Regions from separate parts of the Homo sapiens genome. Here region 1 is linked to region 2. The links are contacts of gene promoters, found by promoter capture Hi-C in human tissues and cell types (Jung and others, 2019). All regions are on one chromosome and are shown on one strand. Each heading gives the region's core, a stretch centred on a gene start or on the middle of the fragment in contact. The rest is flanking DNA. Distances are from core to core; before and after follow the strand shown.

Region 1 (5,365 bases), core at 189-2,688, 200 kb after region 2:
CCTCTGCACCAGAAAAAGATCTCAGTGGCAGGGGACCAGACATATATCGGGGGCCGAGCACTGCTCACCCGGAGGTAGGTGGTAGCTGCGGTGTAAACCTGGATCTTGCCTTCCCTGTTGGGGCCCTGACTCCTGCAGCCCACGCTGACCACCAGGTCCTTTAGGGTCCAGGCCTTGCCCAGCGTTAGCTCCAGGACAGCCTGGAACACAGCTCGGTGTGGCCAGTATAGCCTGTGAGCTGCAGAGACCATCAGCCATGGACTATCCAGGTTCAAGGCTCCTGCAAGCAACAAAGAAGGAGAATCTGGTACACGGGGTAGAGAGGAAGCTTCTAGCAGGCAGCTGGAGGTCCCGAGAGTCTCATCACAGCCGCAATGGACAAATCTCAAAACTGGGAATAACTAGGCATGAGGGAACTTTCTAGGACGTTGGTAATGTTGTGACTCATGACAGGTGTTTGGATCACCCAGATGTATACACCTGTCAAAACTCATCCAATCGCACCATGGAGATTTATACATTTCACTGTGCTTAATGAAACACATGCTGAAACGTTTAGGAGTGAGAGGTATCCATGTCTACAATTTACTTTCAACTGCACGGAAAAAATAAGAGGGCTGGATATGCAGAGAGAGAGGTGATGAGGCAAGTGGGGTCAACTGTTAATAGCAGAACCTAGTATGAGAGGATGCTGGTAATCACTGTACCATTCATCCAACTCTTCTGAATGCAATTTTTTCATAATAAAACATTGGAAGGTCAAGCGCAGTGGCTCATGCCTGTAATCCCAGCACTTTGGGAGGCCAAGGCAGGAGGATCACTTGAGTCTAGGAGTTTGAGTCTAGCCTGGGCAACAAAGCGAGACCCCATCTCTACAACAAATACAAAAATTAGCCAGGCACGGTGGTGCTCACCTATATCCCAGCTACTTGGGAGGCTGAGGTGGAGGCTGCAGTGGCTGTAATGGTGCAATGCACTCCAGCCTGGGCAACAGAGGGAGACCCTGTCTCAAAACAAACAAACAAACAAACAAACAAACAAAAAACCAAACAAAAAACACAGGTAGAAATGCTGAGGGCTGTGAAGAAAAACAATAAAGAAGGAATTTGATAAAAATTGGTTAGGTCAGCAAAGGCTTCTAGGAGGAAGTGACAATTTACCTGATACCTAAATGACAGACAAGGGGGAGTTGATCAAAGGGGCAGGCAACCCACCCCTGCTGGAGACAGGAGATTTACTGTCTGGGGAAACTGAGGCAGACAGGCTCAGATGCAGGGACAAAGACACAGTGACGGGAAGGAGGAGCCGCGGAGTTGAGAATAGGGAGACATTGAAGAGTGGGCAGTCTGGTCCCTGCCCAGTTGCTCCCTTCCCACGGGAAGCGGGAAGATGGCACCACAGAAGAACAGAAGGAACGCACGGATCCCTGGAGAGCCAGGTCCCCACCCAGTTGCTTGATTGACAGGGAAACCCACCGGTCTGCACATGCCCCACCTATGTATAGCGCCTCTTTCCAAACAAGTTTTGAGTCTCCAATTAGTTTTCTATTTCATTCATGTTCTTTCAAGGTGATAAAGATCTTATTTCACTTTATAGATCACAGTTGTGATCTGGCAAACTCAGGCCCTCCAGAACATCTGTCTGGTTGCTCAGTTTTTTTGTTTGTTTTTTTTTTTTTTTTGCTTTTGAGGTCATGGTCATTCATTTATTTCTCATTACATTGGGCTGGGCCAAGAGTCATGCGCCAGTGTATAGATTATGTTATTCTGTTGCTTTCAGACAGAATTGGGATCCAGGTTCTAATTGTCTCCCAAGTTCAAGACCTGGATCAGAACCAGAAGAGAGTGGCCACTGCTGCGGGAGGCTAGGGGCTGCTGGAGGAAAGGCAGGAAACAGACCTAGAGCTGACCACACGCGGGGTTCATGATCAAGGGCGCCCCTCTGGGTACCCGAGGATCCTGCACACAGCTCATGGGTCAGGGAGCCCACAGCGGCCCCTCAAAGTGAATGGGGATGGCACAGGCCTGGGTTTGGAACTCCGGAGCTGGAAGGACAACTGCATCTGCCCAGGCAGGACCTGAAAACATGTTGTCCTTCCATTTGTATCCCAAAATCCTGTGTAGAGTCTTTCCATGAGGACAGGGCCAGGGCTGGCTCCTGGGCCTCTGGGTGGCCTCATGGGTCATTCAGTAAAAGTCCTGCAAACTTGTCACCATCTGGGGACATTCCTGCCAGTTCTTCTCCATGCCCTTCTGTGTGAGACACTGGGCAACTGCTTTAGGCCATTCCTGATTCTTCTTCCTCAACTCTTCAATTTCAGAAGATTTCTAATCTTTTAGGAAGCTCTGGATCTCCAGTTACTCCAAAGGTGAATTAACTGGTCCGATGAGTTTTCTGGTTCTTGGTTTCTTTTTCCTTTTTTACTTCCTGAGGGCTTCTAGTCATTTTAGTCAGATGTCTCACTTTCTCCACTTTTATTCCTGAGTTTTCTCCTGGGATCCTTTTTACGGCAGCCTTAGGGCCTAATCCTGGGTTGGCAGAGAACTAGCACTCACTCTCCCCTAATGGGATCCAGGAGAGTCAAGAGGTGGCCAAGTGTGGAAATGTGTTCTCTCCTCTCTGTTTCAGCGGGTCTCTTACTCGAAGTTTCATAAAAGGATTTTAAGGAGAATAGATTTTTTTAAATCTGTGCTCCAGAATATCAGATCCCTAACTTTGCTAAACTGCTGGTTTTAATTAAGTCCTCAGGCAGCTTCTGAGTACACTGAAAACATAATTACCCTGTTTGAAAACAGGGTAACCAATATTTTGAGCAGCCGACTCAAGCATAAGCACATATCCAAGGCTGGCTTAGCATTTGGGGGAAAGCCTCCAACAGGAAATACAGAAATAAAAAGAAAAAGGAAACTCCGAGGCAACAGATAAAACTCCCTGAAATTCTGTAACTTATACTCTAAGAGAAGACAATTGCATTCATGGAACAGGACGCTGTAAGAAAGGAACAACAACAACAAAAAAGAGCTCTTGAAAATATAAGATAATCCAAAATAAAAATGCTAGTAGAAGGGCTAGCATATGAAGTCGAGGAAATCGGCTCTTGAACAGAACCAAAGGACAAAGAAATAGAACAAAAGAGAAACAAGGAGGCCAGGTGCGGTGGCCCACACCTCTAATCCCAGCACTTTGGCAAGCAGAGGCAGGACGATCACTTGAGCCCAGGAGTTTGAGACCTGCCTGGGCAACATACTGAGACCCCATTCTCCAAAAAAAAGAAAAAGAAAAAAAGAAAAACGAGTTTGAAAAGAGAAACAGAGAAAACATTAGAAGCTCAGTTTTCTGAGGACCAACATCTAACCAATAGGAATTTCAGAACAAAGAAAGGAAATTATCAAAGAAACTGTAAGAGAAAATTACACAGACCAAAATGACATGTTTCCAAATTGAAACACCCTATGCTAAGGACCCAGTACAATGGAAGAACATAGATCCATACCAAGGTACCTCATAATGAGATTTACCACCAACAGGACTAAGACGAGCTCCTAAAAGCTTCTAAGACAGTGAGAAAAGGGTCACATACAAAAGATGATAAATCAGAAGAAGCATCAGATCTCCCAATTAATTCAAAACAATGGAGCAATGCCTTCAAAATCCCAAGAGAAAATTATTTCCAACCTAAAATTCTCCACTCAAACTGTCCCAGTAGAATGAAGACATTTTCAACATTTAGGGTCTCAAAATGTTTGTATTCTGTGATGGGTTAACTTGTGTTCCCCCAAAAGATTAATTGAAGTCTTAATCCCCAATCCCTCCCAATGCGACCTTAACTGAAAATGGGGTCATTGCAGATATCATTAAGTCAAGATGAGGTCATACGAGAATAGGACATGCCCTTAACCCAATAGAACTGATGTCTCTATTAGAAAAGAAAAATCTGGACACAGACACACACACACAGGGAGAATGCCACATGACAAAAGAGGCAGAGATTAGAGAGGATGCGGCTGTAAGCCAAGGAACACCAAGCTTCAACATCCATCACCAAATGCTTGGAAAAGGCAAGGGAGGGTTGTCCCCAGAGCCTTAGAGAGAACATGGCCCTGGTGGCTCCTTGACTCAAACTTACAGCCTTCAGAACTGTGAAAGAACAAATTTCTGTTGCTTTAAGCTGCCCAATTCAGTAATTAGTTACAGAACCCTTGGAAATGAATACACCTCCAATGTATGCTTTCTTTGGAAGCTACTGAAAGATGTACTCCATCAGAACAAAGGAATAAACCAAGAGATATGACACAGGTTTAAGAAAAAGGGATTGTGACCCAGAGGAGAAGTAAAAGGAATTCCCAGGTTGATGGAAAAGGGAGGCTGCAGAACCACAGCTGTGCAACTGGTCGTCTTTGGAGCAGGACTCAGGCTCCAGGAAGAGGGTCCCCAAGAAAAATAACAAAACTAATTGAAGTCAATGAACAATCTGATGTGTCTGACCACCTGGAAAAAAGTTTTGCAATGCTGCTGAAAATTCTGTAATTAGTAGACAAAAATTATAGAAAACTAATCAAATAGAAAAATAAAGGCAATTACAAAACTCCAGAAAAAAACAATAGGTCACCATGATAGGACACCATATATCTCAGCTATGTAAGACATTTATAGTTATAATTGGGTAAGCATCAGATGTTAACAAAAGGTAACTCTTTTAAGAAAATGGAAGAGAATATGTATTTGAAAGGGGCACCAATCTAAGAGTTAAATTCTTATCTTCTCTAGTAAGAAACCTATGGAGAAGGCCTAAAGCTGAAAAATCAAGAAATAACAGCATGATTATATTATTTTTAAATATGGAGAATATAAACAGAAAAAATGGCTAAAAGAATTTAGCGTGCTTACTGTTTTAAGCAAGACTTGGGGTAGGGGCCAGGCACAGTGGCTCACACCTGTAATACCAGCACTTTGGGAGGCCAAAGAAGGTGGATCACTTGAGCTCAGGAGTTCAAGACCAGCCTGGCCAACAGAGTGAAACCCCGTCTCTACTAAAAATAGAAAAATTTGCCAGGTGTGGTGGCACACACCTGTAATTCCAGCTACTTGGGAGGCTGAGGCACGAGAAGAGCTTGAGTCTTGGATGCAGAGGTTGCAGTGAGCCGAGATCGTGCCACTGCACTCCAGCCTGGGTGACAGAGTAAGACTCCGTCTCAAAAAAGAAAAAAAAAAAAAAAGAAAAAGAGAAACAAACAAACAACATAGGCAGATGTGACAAAGAGGATGTATAAACTTTAATCAACTTTTATAAACTTTAATCTTTTAGATTAAACTTTATAAACTTTAATCAACTTTTAGAAAACGTAGTTCAGGTCTACACAAGAGC
Region 2 (4,847 bases), core at 2,080-4,579:
TGGAGCCCGTTTTCCCATCTGTAAAATGGGGCCAGCACAGCCACTGAGTGGTCACTAAGGGTCTGTGAGTATACTAGTATTACAACCAGATCCCCAAGCATTGCCATCTTGGATTTCTGTTTCTCCAGACACTGCCCACAGCAGGCAACAGACAGGAAAGAACAAGGACAGGACTTAATTAATCCACAGCAGAGAAGAAAGGGCAGGGGTGTGGCAAAAAAAAAAAAAGAAAAGAAAAGAAAAGAAAAGAAAAGAAAAAGCAAGATTTTTGGAGATAGAGACAAGACATCACCTCCTTCCCTCCCACTTCACCTTATTAAGGGATGAAATTGCCAAAGCTCTCTGAGATCCTAAATCTCTTCTGGCCATCCTTAAAGTCCTGGAGCCTACTTAATCCCCAAGACAGGCCTGGGCTGCTCTGACTCTCTGACCATCAAGTTAATTTTATGTTGTACTTTCAAGTCTGAAAAGTATTATTAAGCATTAGAACACTATTATATGTGTCTCCAAGGCTGAAGAGGGCCACTCTATCTTCTAAAGATGAAGTATGACGTGTCCACCAGGCTGCTTAACCCTAAATCTGAAAATGACTCAGTTCACCATGTGTTGAGTACAACCCTCAAGTTACCACCATGGCCCATGTGTCAGGCTGGCCAAAGACACAGAAGTTGCCAGAAACCCAGGTCCTGGACACTTTCTGGTGCTGTGGGCCAGCCCCACAAACGTCCTGGAGCCACTCTTCCCTTCCCTGGCTCCTGAAAACATCCACCTCCTCTATGATGCGCAGAAAGTTGCCCTTAGAAAGGTGGAGGCCCAGGGAGGCAAGGGGAATTGCCCTAGCCGCCAGCAGCACCCTCCCGCCACCACAGACCACACAGTCTCCTTCTGGCTCCAAGTTGTGTGTTCACCAAAAAGTACACAAGACAGAGCAGGGTGAGAAGAAGGAAGCTAGACCCAGCCCTGTATCCCCCATCTCATCTCAACTGAGTATCCCTTGATGCTGGTTCAGAATGTGCCACTCCTCTGTCCAAAAACTCACTAAGCCCCCACCCCCACCCCTTCCTGGAAGCTGTTGTGGTCATAGAACCAAAGAAGTTTCCTCTCTGTTATCCATTTCAAGCAGATGTTTAGTGGACAGCCAAAAAAAGGCCCAAGTGTTGTCTTTGACAGGAATGGCCACAGGCAGATTTACTCAGTTTTCCCTTCTGTAGAATGGAAATAAGAGCCCGTGCCTCACAGGGTTGTGCCTCTCTTTATAGGATTAAGTAAATTTAAGTATGCAAAGCACAGAATTAGGGCTGGCACGCACAAAGTGCTCAAACGCGAGCTGCTGTCTTACCGGACACACGCCAAAACTAGACCAACCGTTTCTCTCCCTGGAGAGTTGTGGGTGGAACCGTGAGGGATGCCCAGCCACAGGGCAGGCCCCGTACACCACCTGCAGCCCAGCAGGTCAGCCTTAGGACCCTCTCCCCTGGACCTGTTCAGAACCAAGTTAAACTTTTGGCCAAAGCACACTCGCTAGAAAACTTATTTTTTTTTAAAAAAAAAACTTTCATAATAAAGTTTATTACCTAAACTGACTTTAAAAAATATAAAATAGGATTCTGCACAGCAGAAAAATAAAGCCAGAGACCCTCCCCCAACCCCTGGTTTGTGCAAAGATACTGGGTATATGTAAACATGAAGAGGTAGGAGGTGCGAGTTCAGGTCCTGGCTCCAGATACAGTTAAGCTGCTACAACAACCAGGGGGACCCAGAGGGAGCACCAGGAGGGGGAGGACCCCCTCAAGAGGTGAGAAGGGGTCTGCGGCCTCGTCTCCAGCCGAGGGCGGGAGGCGCCTCGCCCCTACACCCATCCGCTCCCTCCAACCCAGGCCGGGGAGGGTACCCACATGGTTCCAGGCAAGTAATAACAAAATAACACGGCATCCCAGTTAATGCTGCGTGCACGGCGGGCGCTGCCGGTCAAATCTGGAAGGGGAAGGAGCTCAGGTAGTCGCGGAGGACGGGGTTGAGGGGGATGCGAGCCAGGTTCTCGCGGCCCACGGTGGCCACGATGCGCTGGCGGCACAGCTCCTGCAGCGGCCGCACGCGGCGCTGGCGCAGCGGGGCCCCCAGCATGCGGCGCGGCGCCGCCACGTAGTGCTCCAGCAGCTCGAAGAGGCAGTCGAAGCTCTCGCGGCTGCCATCCAGGTGAAAGCGGCCGGCCTGAAAGTGCACGCGGATGCTCGTGGGTCCCGAGGCCATCTTCACGCTAAGGGCGAAAAAGCAGTTCCGCTGGCGGCTGTCGCGCACCAGGAAGGTGCCCACGGGCTCGGCGCGCAGCCGCTCGTGCGCCCCGTGCACGCTCAGGGGCCCCCAGTAGAATCCGCAGGCGTCCAGGAGCGCGCTGGCGCGCGTGATGCGCCGGTAATCGGCGTGCGAACGGAATGTGCGGAAGTGCGTGTCGCCGGGGGCCGGGGCCGGGACCGCGGGGCACGGCCGCGGGCGCGCGGGGGCCGCGGGCGAGGAGGAGGAAGAGGAGGAAGGTTCTGGCCGCCGTCGGGGCTCTGCTGCTGTGGAGACTGCATTGTCGGCTGCCACCTGGTTGTGTGCTACCATCCTACAGAAGGGGCCAGCCGGAGGGGTGGGCCATAGCGTCCGGGGGTGCGCTGCGGGAGAGACAAAGAGGTGAGCTGGGGCGCTGCGGGGCCGGGCAGGTGTGCGCCGGCCGGACAACTCCGGAGGGCGGCGCTCCCGGCGGACCCGGCCCTAGGGGGCGAGCACGGAGCACCAAGTCCGCGCGGATCCGTTCAGCCTCAGTGGACACAGCTAGAAAATGGGCTCTGTACTCCGCGGAGCTCTTCCCGGCGGGTGGGGGCTCGGTGGAGGCGGAGTCCGGCCTCCGGGCAGCACCGAGAGGGGGGCGTGGAGAGCAGCCGGTTCTGGCTCCAGCCGTCCGGCCCCGGCTCGCCGCCCCGCGCCCGCCGCCTGCTGGCCAGGCTGGGATCCGCGCCTGGTCTGGGCGATTTGGGCTAGGGCCGGAGAAAGGCTGTGCTGCGGGAGCCCCGCGCGCGGGGGGCGGCCTGGGTGGGGCCGGCGAGGGTCAGGGGCATCGCGGCCGCGACCCCATTCTGCAGCCCCCGAGGCTCGCCCGACTCCTGGCTGCCCTGGACTCCCCTCCCTCCTCCCTCCCGCCTCCTCGCCCAGGGCCCGGCTCACCTGGCGGCGGGGCGCGGGACGCCGCGGGCGGGACGGCGGGGGGCTCCGGGGCGCTCCGGGGCGGCTCTCGCGCATGCTCCGGGGCCAGGAGCCGTGCAGCTGCCACGGCCGCAGCTCGCTCTGTTCGGCGCCCGCCCCTGCGCCAGTCTTTTAAACCGGCTCGGAGGCGGGGCTGGCGACGGCGGGAGGCCCCGCCCCCTGCCGGCCCCGCCCCCAGCTCCACTTTTGGTTTCTCTTTCCGCGGTGGCGTCCGGCGAGGACCGCTTCGGCCCTGTTTCCCTCTCTTCTGGACCCTCCCGCGGGGCCCTCTGCCCGCCTGTTCGCACCTGCCCCAGCACCCGCCTCTCGAGGGGCTCTGGCCCCGACCCTGCGCCTTCCGGCCACTTCTCGGACCCCTCCTTCGGACTTGGCGACCCCGATTTTGCCCCGCTACCTCGGGTTCCACTTTCTGCCGCCAGGCCCTCTTGGGACGCGCCCTGACACACCCTCCTCCGCCCCAGCTGTCTCCACACCCGCCGGGGGCAGAGCCCTGTCCTCTCCTCCCCTGCAGCCAGATCCCCCTAGGAGGCCACAGAAGGTGTCCCCAACCCTGAGCCTGACCCCACCCGTAGACCCCCTCCTAGCCCCTGCTCCACCCGCCGTCGACGCCCTCAGTCGCCCGCCCTGCTGTCCCGAAGCCCCGGCCGGCCGCGGTCTCTGGTCTTGGCTCGGGCTTCCCGGGAAGCGGCGGCCTGACCACAGGCTTCAGAGGAACCCCTGGCGGCGCGGGCGCCTCCACCCCGGCCCAGTTCCTCGGAAACTGGGCGGGGCCGGGCAAGGTCCCTGGTGGCCTCGACTGCCCTCCCTGCGCTCCCACTACCCGGCTGCGGAAGAAACTGAGGCTGGGGAGGGGCTGGGATTTGCAATGGCTTGCAGATTGGGAGCTCTGGACCTGGATCTCGCCTTCCCCGTCTTCATTTTGGGGAGAGGTGCAGCTGGACGACATCAAATTGGAGCCCAGTGAAAAAATGGTGCATTCTCAGACGTGATGAATCCCCAAACCTGGTTTCCTAGCCCTCCTCTCCCCCGACCCCTTCCTCATAGATTTCCCCCTCCTACTGCTCCGTCAGGCATCTGCCCTTCAAAGACTGCCTTCCCACCACACACACGGCCGGGGCTTGGGATGGTGGGCGGTCGGTGGTCGGGGCTGTAATTTGCACACGTGTTTGTGATTTAGTGATTCCGATTGTCGTGCGAGGCCATGGAGTAGGTGCCTGGCTGCTCCGTGTATTTTTGAATGAAGGCATGTGAGGAGCCCCAGCATCACAAGGGGCCACATAAAAACCTGGCTAGGCTGGGCACTTGGTTACTGGCCTCACACTGGGACACACTGCCCTCTACAGACAGCTCTCAGACGGCTTCTCTCCTGGAAGCCCTGGTGCCCAGTCCCTTCCCGCCTCCCTGGCCCCACGATACCTCTTTCCCCAGGCAGAGCCTAGGTCCTTATTAACCTCCTGAACACAGGGAGTGGCCCAGAATCAGCCCAGCTTAGCACCCCATCAGTGCCCTGAATCTGCATGTGGCCAGGGCTGGTGGTGGTCATTGGTGTAGCCTCCTAGGTTGTGCGTGTGTGTGCGTGCGCGTGCGTGAGGGGGTGAGAGAAG

What was found. The method cuts DNA at HindIII sites, captures the fragments that hold promoters and counts their contacts. A contact is called where the count stands out against the background at its distance.
Region 1: a fragment that was not itself captured here is called in contact with the fragment with the promoter of SOCS1 in region 2 in 1 of the 25 tissues and cell types used here (heart right ventricle).

Annotation. Positions count from the first base shown.
Region 1 is chr16:11,450,541-11,455,905 of GRCh38, forward strand. It overlaps LOC400499 (putative uncharacterized protein LOC400499), which reads right to left. Exons shown (of 67, transcript NM_001370704.1): 29 at 69-280. Among named protein-coding and RNA genes, the nearest start is that of RMI2, 110 kb to the left of the region's middle. The HindIII fragment of the contact is 4,697 bases long and covers 1-3,787 here.
Region 2 is chr16:11,252,875-11,257,721 of GRCh38, forward strand. It overlaps SOCS1 (suppressor of cytokine signaling 1), which reads right to left and starts at 3,330. Exons shown (of 2, transcript NM_003745.2): 1 at 3,205-3,330; 2 at 1,543-2,654. The coding sequence starts at 2,604. The coding sequence ends at 1,969. The region is part of intron 1 of LOC105371082 (a long non-coding RNA gene); the gene reads left to right. RefSeq lists an enhancer at 1,196-1,365 and silencers at 1,976-2,065, 2,476-2,625, 2,636-2,685, 2,786-3,525, 3,776-3,975. The HindIII fragment of the contact is 22,451 bases long and covers 1-4,847 here.